2 separate regions of the Homo sapiens genome follow, and region 2 is linked to region 1. Evidence: promoter capture Hi-C in 16 types of primary human blood cells and fetal thymus (Javierre and others, 2016). All regions are on one chromosome and are shown on one strand. Each heading gives the region's core, a stretch centred on a gene start or on the middle of the fragment in contact. The rest is flanking DNA. Distances are from core to core; before and after follow the strand shown.

Evidence for each region. The method cuts DNA at HindIII sites, captures the fragments that hold promoters and counts their contacts. A CHiCAGO score of 5 or more calls a contact.
Region 2: a contact is called between a fragment that was not itself captured here and the fragment with the promoter of IFNK in region 1, in 1 of 17 cell types (neutrophils). The highest score is 6.8, in neutrophils.

What each region holds. Positions count from the first base shown.
Region 1 is chr9:27,519,601-27,525,858 of GRCh38, forward strand. It overlaps IFNK (interferon kappa), which reads left to right and starts at 4,690. Exons shown (of 2, transcript NM_020124.3): 1 at 4,690-5,361. The coding sequence starts at 4,737. The coding sequence ends at 5,360. The region is part of intron 1 of MOB3B (MOB kinase activator 3B); the gene reads right to left. The HindIII fragment of the contact is 1,828 bases long and covers 4,166-5,993 here.
Region 2 is chr9:27,865,378-27,872,107 of GRCh38, forward strand. No RefSeq gene overlaps it. Among named protein-coding and RNA genes, the nearest start is that of C9orf72, 300 kb to the left of the region's middle. The HindIII fragment of the contact is 7,603 bases long and covers 1-6,444 here.

The DNA.
Region 1 (6,258 bases), core at 3,440-5,939:
GGTATCAAACAGGACACATACCAAACTGATAACTGTAGTTGCCGCAGGGGAGGAGAGGAGCATGACATGAGGCTGAGCTGTTAAGCAAAGCTTTCGCTTGCCCTGAAGTGTTTGAATTTTTACCATATGCACATATCCACAGTATTCCCTGAATAGTCATTATCAGTTTCTCTATCAGGGTCATCATTAAGAGAAGAGCCAAGAAAGGGACCAGAAGACAAGCTGGCCCCAAATGAGGCTGACCCCAATGCTGAGGCAGTGAGAATGAGTGAAACATCTAGTTGCCAGAGGTGACTGCGTTTGTCTGAGGATAAAATAGCTGCACACAACCTTGTGATGACCATCCTCTGCATGCCCCATGGGAAGTACCGCTAGGCCTGGACACAAGGCTTCCTTTTCCTGGGCTCTCTACTGGGCTCAATCGCCTAATGACCCTACAAATGGAACAATGTACTTTCAAGAATTGAGTAATATGGATGATCAATGTGTTACTCTCGTCCTGATTCGAAACTTGTCTTTTCATGGAGAGCAATAAATCTTATCAGTAGATGCCAAATGCCCCTCAGCTGAATCACAGCTATATCGTCTAGACTGAAATGTCTCATCTCCATTTTGCCAAATTCTGCCTTGTCCATTACAGTTAATCTCATAATCCACATAGACACCACACAATTCCATAAACAACAGAGCAGCCCCTGCTAACCAGCCCTCCCTCTGAGGAAAGCCTGAACATGTATAAACGATCTCAAGCCATGCCAGGGAAATAAGAACAGATATCATGGAAACCATGTTAGCATGTCAGTGCATAGCCTACTGATGACAAACTCAGCAGTTATGCCAGACGAATTTAGGAGTCAAAATGTTTCCTTACACTGTCATTGTTTTCAATTTTCTGATTATATTTTTGAGATACATTCAATACCTCTGGCTTTACAGAACAGAGGTATGACCAGTGACTGATCATTCAATAATGCTTCTAATCAGAGTGATTATATGTGAGTGTACAAGTGTGTGTATGTTTGTGTGTGTCAGTATTATTTTGTTTTAGTATGACAGGTGACCTCTTTGCCATGTACACTTGTTACGGGTATGTGCACATGTAAAGCCAGCATAGAGAAATGCAATCAAATGTAACTCTGCAGGAGGAGGAAGAGTAGCAGAGGAATGGCTCTCTGCAGGGGATGTCACGTCTGAGCTCTGCTGTGAGAGGTCAGTGGGAGCTTGCATGGTGGATAGGGTTGTCAGATAAAATAAAGACACCCAGTTAAATCTGAATTTCAGAAAAACAATGAATGACTTTTTAGTAGGTATGTCCCAAATATTGCATGAGTGTTCTATATTTTTATCTGCTAAGACAGGCAATCCTAATGGTGGGAGAAGGACAGATGTGTATGCCAACCATCTTTCCTTCTTTGTCATGAATATTGTCAATATCAGCATCTATTAACGTTTACAGAACATGGGGAATGGAGTCCTTGCTCTTGGGGAACCCTAAGAATTACTCCTCCTGCCTAAAACACTCAGAACATGCCTGCTTCTTCAACCACAGCCTCCTCGAGATCATGCACTACAACTTATTCCTCCTTCTTCAGGACCTAGGCCAGTGACGGAAATGTCATAAACACAAAAGTACATTTTTAGATAAATGAGAATATAATATGGAATTATAGTAAAGGGAGGAAATTTGGGGTGAGAGGGCTAAAGATGACAAAACTGTGCATGGCTGAAAATACAGGCAACTTCAAGACGAATGACAATAGCCAAATGTGCAGCCATCTCCAACACCTATGAGCAGAACTGAACAATCTTTTAGCTTGGTTAGTATCATTGAACTGTCTCAAACTAGTGAAAAGTATACTAAGCACCACGGGCAATTTCAGGGAAGAGGGGAATGCACTAAATTGGGAGACCAACACTTATACAATTATCTGTTTTTTAAAACCCATGGTTAAGGAGGCCAAGGCATCGTAAAAGCAAAATGGGGAACAAGCAGTTCTAATTGGAACAGTTCAAGAAGTTTTAGGTAGAGAAGTTATATGAGGTATGTAAAAAGCCATGGCCCTCAGAGAGGCTTTGCACTTTATAGAATGTGTGTGTGTGTGTGTGTGTAATTATAAGTATATATACATGTATAAACATGGCTGCAAGAATAGTATATTCCCACATACTGTGTGTTATTCATATCAACTGATTGGAACTGAGCCTTAGGGAGAATCCACATTTTCTTTCAAAATACTCTAGAGTAGAAATGTTTAAACAAATAAAATAGTATTGATCCCATTTCAGATGTATAATAATTTTTCCTTTTTTAATGTATCTTCTTTTAAAAACAGCCTTCTCTTATTAAATAAGAAATACTTGGCCAGGTACAGTGGCTCACGCCTGTAATCCCAGCACTTTGGGAGGCCGAGGCGGTCGGATCATGAGGTCAGGAGATCGAGACCGTCGTCGCCAACATGGTGAAACCCTGTCTCTACTAAAATACAAAAAAATTAACGAGACATGGTGACGCGTGCCTGTAATCCCAGCTACTTGTGAGGCTGAGGCAGGAGAATCGCTTGAACCCGGGAGGCGGAGGTTGCAGTGAGCCGAGATCGCGCCACTGCACTCCAGCCTGGAGACAGAGCAAGACCCCGTCTCACAAAAAAAAAAAAAAAAAAAAAAAAGAAAAGAAAGAAAGAAAGAAAAAGAAATACTTGCTCACCACAGAAAACTTAAAAAATCCAGGTAAATAAAAATATAAAAATAAAAACCACCCATTATTCTTCCAGTTAGAGATAGTGACTCAAAATTTTTGCATATATATCAAGACATTTTTTCATATATATATATATATATATATATATGCATATGTCTATATTTAACAAAAGTGGTATCAGCCTCTATATGCAAATATAAGCTTGTTTTTTAAACTACAAAGTGTATCTATCCAAGTGACCAAATATATTCCCACACATAATTTTTAGTGCTTACATATATGTTTTCTACTGATGGCTTACTTAACTAAGTATTTATTGCTGAACATTAAAATTGTTTTCCATTTTTTGCTGTGACAAACTTCCTTACAGCTAAGTCTTTAAGGGCATCATCATTATTTCTGGGGAATCAGTTCCTAGAGGATCAATCGCTGAGTCAAATATTATGTACATTTTTAAGGCTTTTGATCCATATCACCACTTTCCTCTCTAGGAAGGTTGTGTCAATTTATAACGCTATATAAAAGGGCTTGTTTTCTTAATGTTTTCCAAATTTGGTCAGCCCAAGAAATCTGCCCATGAAATAAGAATTTATGTAGATGGAACAAATAGAATAATATATATATATATATTTTTTTCCGTAAGAAACCTTTCCTAAAAGCCAGGATTTTAAGAAATCCCACTTACCCACAATTAGCCTTTGGTGCAGTCAACTGATTTAGACAAGAACTTTTTAAGCCAACTTTTCAATCAAAGTCTGCCATGTTTGTGGAACTGTGGCTATTTACCATTTTACAATGACTTAATTGCAAATTAATGTATATCTTTTTTTTCTTGAGAAGATATAATAAGCTACCTTTTTAAAATGACAATCCATTTTATTTTCCTGGAGAAAAGAATCCATTTGCTTTAACCATAATCAGAGGAAGGTTATTTGGTCAAACAAAGTAAAAACCATAAACAATAGATAGCCATCATTACCACAGTAACATTGGTCCAGCTAGGAATTCACTTAGCTAAATGGGTGACTTCCTACTCACATACCTCCTCAGTGCACAACAAACACAGGAGCAAACAAAAGCCTTTACAGAATCCAGAACCACCAGGCAAGAAGATATAATAATCAAGCAATCAAGCAAAAGTTTAAAAATACTGCCTAAACTGCACCAAAAAAAAAAAAGAAAAGAAAAGAAAAGAAAATGATACTACAAGAGAGAAGTTAATGAGGCAGAAAGATATTCTCAAATATAAAACCCCCTCCAGGACTTTTAAGAAAGGTATCAGAGGCATATGGAAGGCTAAGTCCAGGATGGATTTAACTGAAGAAAAGGATATTTAGAGATTATCAACATTTTCTAATGCAACAGAAAACCAAGCCAACTTAGTCTCCTACTTAGTAAGTGCCAGCTCTATTCTTCATCTTTTTGGAGATCCAGAAAAATCAAAAAGAGAAAATATCCAAATATAGAAGCTTAATTTAACAAAATTGGAAAAACCTAAACTATACTGTGCTCTGGTGACCTAGCAATCAAATAATCACAGTCATTTGGTCAATGTCTATGATTAACTCAATGAGACAGGATGTTTGGCTATAGCACCAGGTACAAAAAATATATTTTCATGAAGGATCACTCCCTCTTATGTAATAGATTTGGGTGAGTGAGTGAGTGAGTGAGTGCATGGACTCACAGCTTTTGGCTTTCTGAAATACCCTGCATCAGTCTTGTTATGATGATTCCTTAGTGCTGGGATGGATCATCCAGGCATTTAAGGTAACACGATGGTAATTCTTTGCTCATTTTTCAGGGAAAAAAAAAAGTTATCACTTCCAAAGTCGGCATAGTCACCCGAAGTAAAAAAAAAAAAAAAAAAAAAGCCTCAGAGGCAAAGGAAAGGGGCCGCAACCTTGGTTAACTGTGAAATGACGAATGAGAAAACTCCTCCTGCTGAAGATATTCAGGTATATAAAGGCACATGAAGGAAAACTCAAAACATCATTGTCATATACACATCTTCTGGATTTTTTAGCTTGCAAAAAAAATGAGCACCAAACCTGATATGATTCAAAAGTGTTTGTGGCTTGAGATCCTTATGGGTATATTCATTGCTGGCACCCTATCCCTGGACTGTAACTTACTGAACGTTCACCTGAGAAGAGTCACCTGGCAAAATCTGAGACATCTGAGTAGTATGAGCAATTCATTTCCTGTAGAATGTCTACGAGAAAACATAGCTTTTGAGTTGCCCCAAGAGTTTCTGCAATACACCCAACCTATGAAGAGGGACATCAAGAAGGCCTTCTATGAAATGTCCCTACAGGCCTTCAACATCTTCAGCCAACACACCTTCAAATATTGGAAAGAGAGACACCTCAAACAAATCCAAATAGGACTTGATCAGCAAGCAGAGTACCTGAACCAATGCTTGGAGGAAGACAAGAATGAAAATGAAGACATGAAAGAAATGAAAGAGAATGAGATGAAACCCTCAGAAGCCAGGGTCCCCCAGCTGAGCAGCCTGGAACTGAGGAGATATTTCCACAGGATAGACAATTTCCTGAAAGAAAAGAAATACAGTGACTGTGCCTGGGAGATTGTCCGAGTGGAAATCAGAAGATGTTTGTATTACTTTTACAAATTTACAGCTCTATTCAGGAGGAAATAAGGTATATTTTTGGAATTAAAATTCCTTTTCCCTCCGAAATCTCTTTCTCCTTCTCCTCCTCCAACTTCTTTTTAAGGATTGTTGTGCTGTCCTGTAAGCCTGTCCTCAGTTGGACTGGTAGCCTCGGAACATCAGGGACACTCACCTCTCTAAGGAGAGGTAATGCCAACCATCCTCAGGGTGACCAAGAGTCTCCTTAGAAAGTCTTTAAGACATTTTTAAAGGAATAAGATTCCCTCTCCGTCTTCTTCTATTCTCTCTTGCTCTTTTCTGTGGCCATTTTGAAAGAGCTTTGCTATATATACCACCTGTGGACTTCACCAAGACAATGGCTAGAGGATAGGGAGCAGAGAATGTTGCAAAATGGTAACATTTCAATGACTTAACTGTTTTGCTGCCAAGGTTGCTTATCCTATGAAAATTCAGCACATTAAAAGAGCTTATACATGCTCCCTAGAGTCAATACTCTTGCATTTTCCCCCTCCTGCTCGGGGGGAAAAAGGTTGACATTTCTGGCCCATTTCCTTCTCAGCTTGGTTTGTTTGAATTGATGCTTGTGGAATAGTATTTCATTACTTTAAGAGTGAAGATCCATAGTGAAATTGGATGGATGGTTGAATTAGACGACCATTAAGCTTTCATTTAACCTTTGAGAGTCTGTGATTCTAATGTAGCACACTCTTCATTCCTGATGTATATTGTTTGATTCCTACATCTAAAGGCATGGAAAATGCTGTGGAAAAGTATGGTACAGAATCTGTCTTTTACTGTTTTTCATGTGCCTGAAATAAAATGTCCAGAGTCATAATATGGAACAATTTTACATTAGATTTTCCTAGTTAGAAGACTACATTCTGTGAGTTAATTTAACTAGCTATTCCAATAATACATAATACTT
Region 2 (6,730 bases), core at 1,393-3,892, 340 kb after region 1:
TGTGCCCTCTCATTTCCTGCCTCTCAAGGCACTACCTCTCCAAGGATCCATTTCAGTGTTCCTAATAATTACCCTACTCTTGAGACAGTGACTGTAAGACAGATTTCAGAGTGACTGGTCTCTTATTTTCCAAAATATGATCTTCTATTGCTTTATCTGAGTGTCCTGGAAAATCACCTCTCTCCTGTGCTGTACAATACCATGACCCAAATTAAGAGGAGTGAAAGATTAGGAGAGAGCACAATTTTTGTACTTGGGGGAATGAAGTAAATTAAAGGAGTGTTTCATGTTTCTTTCAAATGTGACTTTAATAACAATTAATCACAGACAGAGTTTCCTATTGCTTCTCAGTAACTAGAAACTAAAGAGTAAATTCTTTTTGTTGACATTATGATATTCTTTTTTGCATTATTCCTGAATTTCTACTTCTTAAATTTTATTTTATTATTTTATTGTTTGTTTTTAAAAATTCAGGTGGAATTCTTTTACTCCCTGTACTTCGTGATATTTCTGAAGTTTAAGTTATCTTGTGAATATATGTTCATATTTTAGTGTGAGCTGCGTCAAACATTTTTCAGAAGTGGGAACATGTAAACTGTACTTTGAAAAAGAGTAAATGCCTCAGGCTAACAAAATAGGATATAAACATTCAAAATATATATAAGAAGCCGTTCTCTAGTTCGGACTTAATGTTATTTTTTACAGCAAGCTCTGACTAGTTCTTGAATAGTGGGTTTATATTTAACAGCAAATGGGTAAACCACAATTTGGTTTACATAGTCCTAAGTTTTAGTCTAAGCAAGGCTACTTGCAGAAGTGAATGTAAAGGGAAGCCTGGCACAGCAGGACCTGTTATCAGAGAAGTGCCTGGGCCATGGGCTGAGAAGACACCTTAAGGAGGCTGTTAGAGATAACTAAATGGAAGGGAGACCAGCATGGTCCCTTTCCCCAGAGCTCTGTTAGAGAACGATGGGAGAAGTTGTCTGGGGAAGGGACTCCTCTAGGAACTATCCCTAATGGAAGAAGAACTTATTGTTATGAATAATGTTGCTGTAGCTATTTTAATGCTAATATTGCCATATATATGGGGACCCAAAAGGAAATGGTTTCTTAGGTGAGATTAGTTATACTACGATATCACAGATCTTAGGAGGAAAAGAAAATGAGGATTTCTTTCACTTTAATATCTTGTTTTTCTCTTGATTGCATGTCCCTTCAATCCGTCAGCCTTTGCTTAAATTCTGTTTTAATCTTACAAATTCTTCTGGGTTTGCCTAGCAGAGGTGTAGTTTATTCCTATTATCCTGGTATGATTAAGAACAGCATCCCCTTTCACTCTCAAATTTGGATGATAAATTATATATGCACCTCAGTCACGAGGTAAAAGGAGTGGTTTGTAACTCTCTCCCCACACAGAAAGAGATCTAAGATAGAGTGCATGTATATGAAAGCACTGCGTAGGAACCAGTCTGCTGTTCAGTGGATCAAGGGATGAAGAAAGGAAAAGACAAGATGGAGGTGCTTTGGTCCACAGAGCTGGATAAAAGCAGGAGGGCAGGAGCCCACCCCCAGGGGGAGCAAAAGCAGGCTGACTGAGGGATAGGTCCTGGCTAAACAGAGCAGCAGGAGGGCCTGGATGATGAGGTGAGGCCTCCTGAGCGCTCTTTTGTCCGCAGAGTTTTGTTTTTCCTTTTGGTGACTGACTTCCTTGCCATTGCAGTAAGACATAAACTCACAAAAATTACACATATCAGCAAGTTGTAGAGGTTTAAGAAATCTTACAGAATTGCCATGACCCTTAGACTTGCAGTTTTTTGTAGACCTGGATCCCTTGAAGTCCTCTTGAATTTTTGTTCTTATCTCTTATTTCTTAAGGTGGACCTCACCTGATTTCTCTCTTTCAGATCCCACCCTTTCTATGACACATTGATTCGTTCCTCCTGATAGCATACTTCCCTGCTACAATGACCTTAGAAGATAATTAGTCCTGAGTCATTGACATGAGCATGAATTAGTCCCATTAAGTGCCCACTTTTATCTTAGGGAACACCAGATGTAGTGCACCCAATCCCAGTGAATCCTGGTATAGCTCTTCCTGATTTCCCACTTTAGTTGCAAAGCATAATGAATCACTCTAACTGGGGCACTTTAAGCTGGAACGTTGAGAAATGCCAAAGACCTTAAGGAAACTTGCAGGTATCGAATCACGTGCTTAACGGTGAAGATTAGGGAAAAGCAGACTTCAAGAATTGCCTAGACAGATATTTACTTTGATACTCATCACATTCATTTATTCTTTTATCATGAATTCAACAGATTCATTGAGTACTTATTATGTCTAGCACTAATGTTGAGTGTTGGGGACACAAAGTCAGATATAGTTTTTAACCTTAAGTAGGTCACAGTCAAGAGAGGGTAGCAGAACAAAAAGATTTGTTATAGTATCATATGATAAGTGTTTCAAATAAAGGTATACATAAAATGCTATCAAAAGGGAAAGGGGGTATTTAGATAAGTTTTCAATGCTTCAGAGAATGACTGTATGTGGAGATTTTTATCCCTGTTATATTCATGAAAGACTCTGATTGAAGCCTTACCACATTTAATTGCTGTGTAATTTGTGTTTTGTAATACTGACAACTGACACTGCTCAAAATCAAGGTTCTGGCAGGCTGTTATGACTCCCCAGATCTGATTCTGTAACTCTGAAAAAGAAGTAGTATAATTCTATTCTGATCTGATATGCTATTATTAAATACAATATGGGTGTCCCATGAACACTTCCCTGTTTTTAAGACAAATTTATATAAGGAACAACAAGTCTACCTGGTTTATAGATAAATTCATGCAGAAACTTAAGGCAGAGGTTTTCTGACATTCAGTATGAGCTCACATTTCTGGTATTAAAGAGAGAAAGGAGACGTTGAGGGATGGAATTAATGGAACCAGTACAGCAAGTTGAGTTATCTCTAAGAATTTACAACTCCACCTCAAGCAAATTTTAGAGTGTGCTCTCTGAATTTGCCCAATTGTGATACTTTGATTGAAACAAAATTGAGTTGTTAGTCAGTTAAAATGGAGACCTAGTACTTCAGAGCAGTTGGCTGCATTTCAGAAGGAAGGAGAGGAAGAACATATTCAGAGACATTTACCTGGGGAAAGTTGTGTTTATCTAATAGTTTAGTTATTAATTGTTGGAAGCCCAAAATCTTTGGATCTAAGGGCATTTTTTCCCTCATGAAATCACCAGAATTTTTAATAAAGATATTTAAGTATGTAGCATTTTGCCTGCGAGGATTGGTTGTTATCTGTGCCTAATTGAGAAAATTTCTAAACTGAAATGACTTACTAATTTAATAATCACAAATAAGGGAGTTTGTTTCAGATTTTACCTTCAAGACATCCTTGGGGATAGATGACTCAGGCATCCATAAAGAAGTAATAGTAAGTTGGTTAACACATTCACTAAACAAAGGGAGCCTCCTGTTATAGGCAGCACTCTTATTGTGAAGTTCTTCTATATGGGAAAAGAAAAGGAGGACATTCATTCACATAACTAATGTTATTGAAACAAACCATATGTGCCACGATCTGCATTCAAAACGCTGTAATAAAACTGATTAGGTCATGCTGTTTATCTAGAAAGATATTACAGCCTGGTGGGAAGTCAGAACTAGAACCAAAATATACTGCAATATCTTAAGTGCCCTCAGAAGGGCCAAAAAGAATACAATGAGGCTCAGAGGATTGAACTACTAATTTGAGGTTATGAAGTAGGTTCCCCAAGGAGTTGGCCTTTAAAGGAGATAGTAGAGGAAGGGAAGACTCTAAGCAGAGGAAGCATCAGAGAGAGCGATAGCCTGGCCTGCTGAGTTGCCTTATAATGGTGACAACTGTGGCTTCAGCAGAGATGATGGTGGAGGGTAAGACAGTGGCAGCTCTTGTGTACCAAGCTAAGGAGTTGGGCCTTCATCCTGTATATATAACAAATGCCACTGTTTCCTTCTTTAAATATAGTGATTGAAAAGGAGGTGCTCTTTAGGGTACAATCAGGAGTGGTTTCATTCCAAATATGTCCTCTAAATTGCTCCATAAGCTGAGAAAATTTCATAGCTTTTTGTCACTTTCAGTATAAATAAAACTCTTTAGAAAGACCAACGTGCTATGGGTCAAAATTCCAAATTCTCATTCAACTAAGGACATCTTCCCTTCACCACAGCCAAAACCTGACCTGGCTACAGAAGGAGGAGTGGGGAGTGGCATGGTCTCTGAGCCGGTACTAGGATGAGTCCCCCGCCCCCTTAAATTTTGCTCCCCAGATGCCTCACTCGCTTCACCCTAATCTCTGCTCTACAAGTTGTTTTAATTTTTCTCCCGTCTCCCGCACTCCCTTCTCCTTTTCACTATGCCTGTTACTTCAGATTTTGAAGGAAATATGGGTAAAGGAGCAACAGAGAGGAGAAGTGCCTTTTCAGTTGGCTGGTGGTGTTTGTTTTCTTGATGGTTAACACCTTTTGTTGTAGCAGACATTCAAATGCTCTTCATGGCCTTTGGAGGCCTCTGACCTGGGAAATTGGCAATTTCCTTAGGTATGTTATGCATTCTCCAGCTGACACCTTTGGGCTCCTCCTCAGTCCGTGCCAATTATATAACGCACACACAGAAGTGGATTTACCCTGAAGCTAATGACGCTTCAGCTTCAGGGCCCCTCACCTGCACAGGCTCCTACCAAGGTCCTAGGAAGGCCCCTACCAGTGTGTCTGTGCAGTCATATGCTTTTGTAAAATTTATAAGGATAAGCTATTTTAACACAGTTAAGTCTGAAGTCTCTTTCCTTTCCAATTTTTCCTTTGAAATAATTCTCCTTATGTTTGGTGAACTTAGAGTGTGATGGGGAATTTTGGGAAGGTGATTTGAGGATCCATTAAATTAGGATTTGGTGGGATACATTTGTGTGGTTCCAAAGTCACAAGATTTTGCTATGGATTCCAGAAATATTCCTATCACTCACTGTCATAAAAAGGTATAGGGGATAAAGGTTTTTATTTGTATTTTTTGCTTTTGCTTCTGTATTTTTTTTGAGATGTAATCTGACTCTGTCACCCAGGCTAGAGTGCAGTGGTGCAATCATGACTCATGCGTCCTCGACCTCCCTGGGTTCAGGTGATCCTCCCGCCTCAGTCTCTGATTAGCTGGGACTACAGGCATGTGTCACCCTGCCTGGCTAATTTTTTTTGTATTTTTGTAGAGATGGGGTGTCAGCATGTTGCCCAGGCTGGTCTTGAACTCCTGGGCTCACGTGATCTGCAATTACAGGCATGAGCCACTGTGCCTGGCCTAGGACAAAGGTTTTATTGACATAAAGTGTCCTACGGCATCTGGCCTCAGAAGTATGTGGGTAATGAAGAAGAAATAAGGTCTAAAACCTATGAGGCTCAGAGCTAGTCTGTGAAAAATTCTTTCAAATATTACAAATCAGACCTGATAAAAACTGGTCAGAGTTTCCTAAATTTGATAACAATCCAGAAAGTTTATATGGCATCACCAAAATAAGATTTAAAGAAAAAAGAAACTTTCTAAACTATGAGAAACCAAAAAAAATTGATTCAACCATACCCAATCAAAGACTAAATGATCTTAAAATTTTCTCTACTATCATTGTCACATGAAGCAGGTATCAAAAATATGAAGCCAAAAATTAGGGGTAAAACTATTACGAAGAAGTGTCAGACAATTAATTATTAAAAATGTTACATTATTGTGGGGATTTGGGTGTTTCTGGCATTTGTCAGCTTTTAAAAATTTGTATTTTGTTATCTTTTTTCATTCTAAAGCAGTATTTGCTTTTGTGATGTAAAAGTATCAGAAAATTTTTTATGTGTTGAAGAATCATATGTACTTCAGGCCCACAAAACCTAGATTCACTCTTTAAAAAAAAAAAAAAATTCAGCATTTATTTCAAGTTTAGGGAGTACACATGCAAGTTTGTTACTTGGGTTTATTGTGTGATGCTGAGGTTTTGGAGTATGACTGAACCCATCACTCAGGTACTGAGCATAGTACCCAATCATTGGTTTTTCAACCCTCGCCCCCTCCCTTCCTTCCCCCTCTAGTAGTCCCTAGCTTCTATTGCTGACATCTTTATGATGATGAGTACCCAGTGTTTAGCTCCCACTTGGGAGCTAAGCGAGAACATGTGGTATTTGGTTTTCTGTTCATGCATTAAATCACTGAGGATAATGGTCTCCAGCTGCATCCAGGTTGCTGCAAAGGATATATTTCATTCTTTGTTACGATTGCATAGTATTCCACGAGGTATATGTACCACATTTTCTTTATCCAGTCCACCACTGATAGGCATCTAGGTTGACTCCATGTCTTGGCTATTAGAGTCATCCTTTTCAATGGGTGCATCTTTTCAGGTAGGCATCTTCTTGAACAGTAAGCTTTCAAGATGATTTGAGCTTGCTGACTTTCCATGATGTCAGCTGGGTCACAGATATGTTAGCATCCCTGCCTTGCCAAACTCTGGAAAGGTGAGTTGCTTCAAAGACCACATTCTCACTTTCTTCAGAGAGCCAGGCCAATGAGTGTATGTGCTCTCTCAGCAAACCTCCAGCCAGCATGGGAAGACAGCAGCATACTCTCTGGCAAGGTCTCCTCTACCCTATTCCACCCTGATAAACACAGTGTTGCTTTTGAGGCTTCTTTCACTTACCTTGAGGCAGAG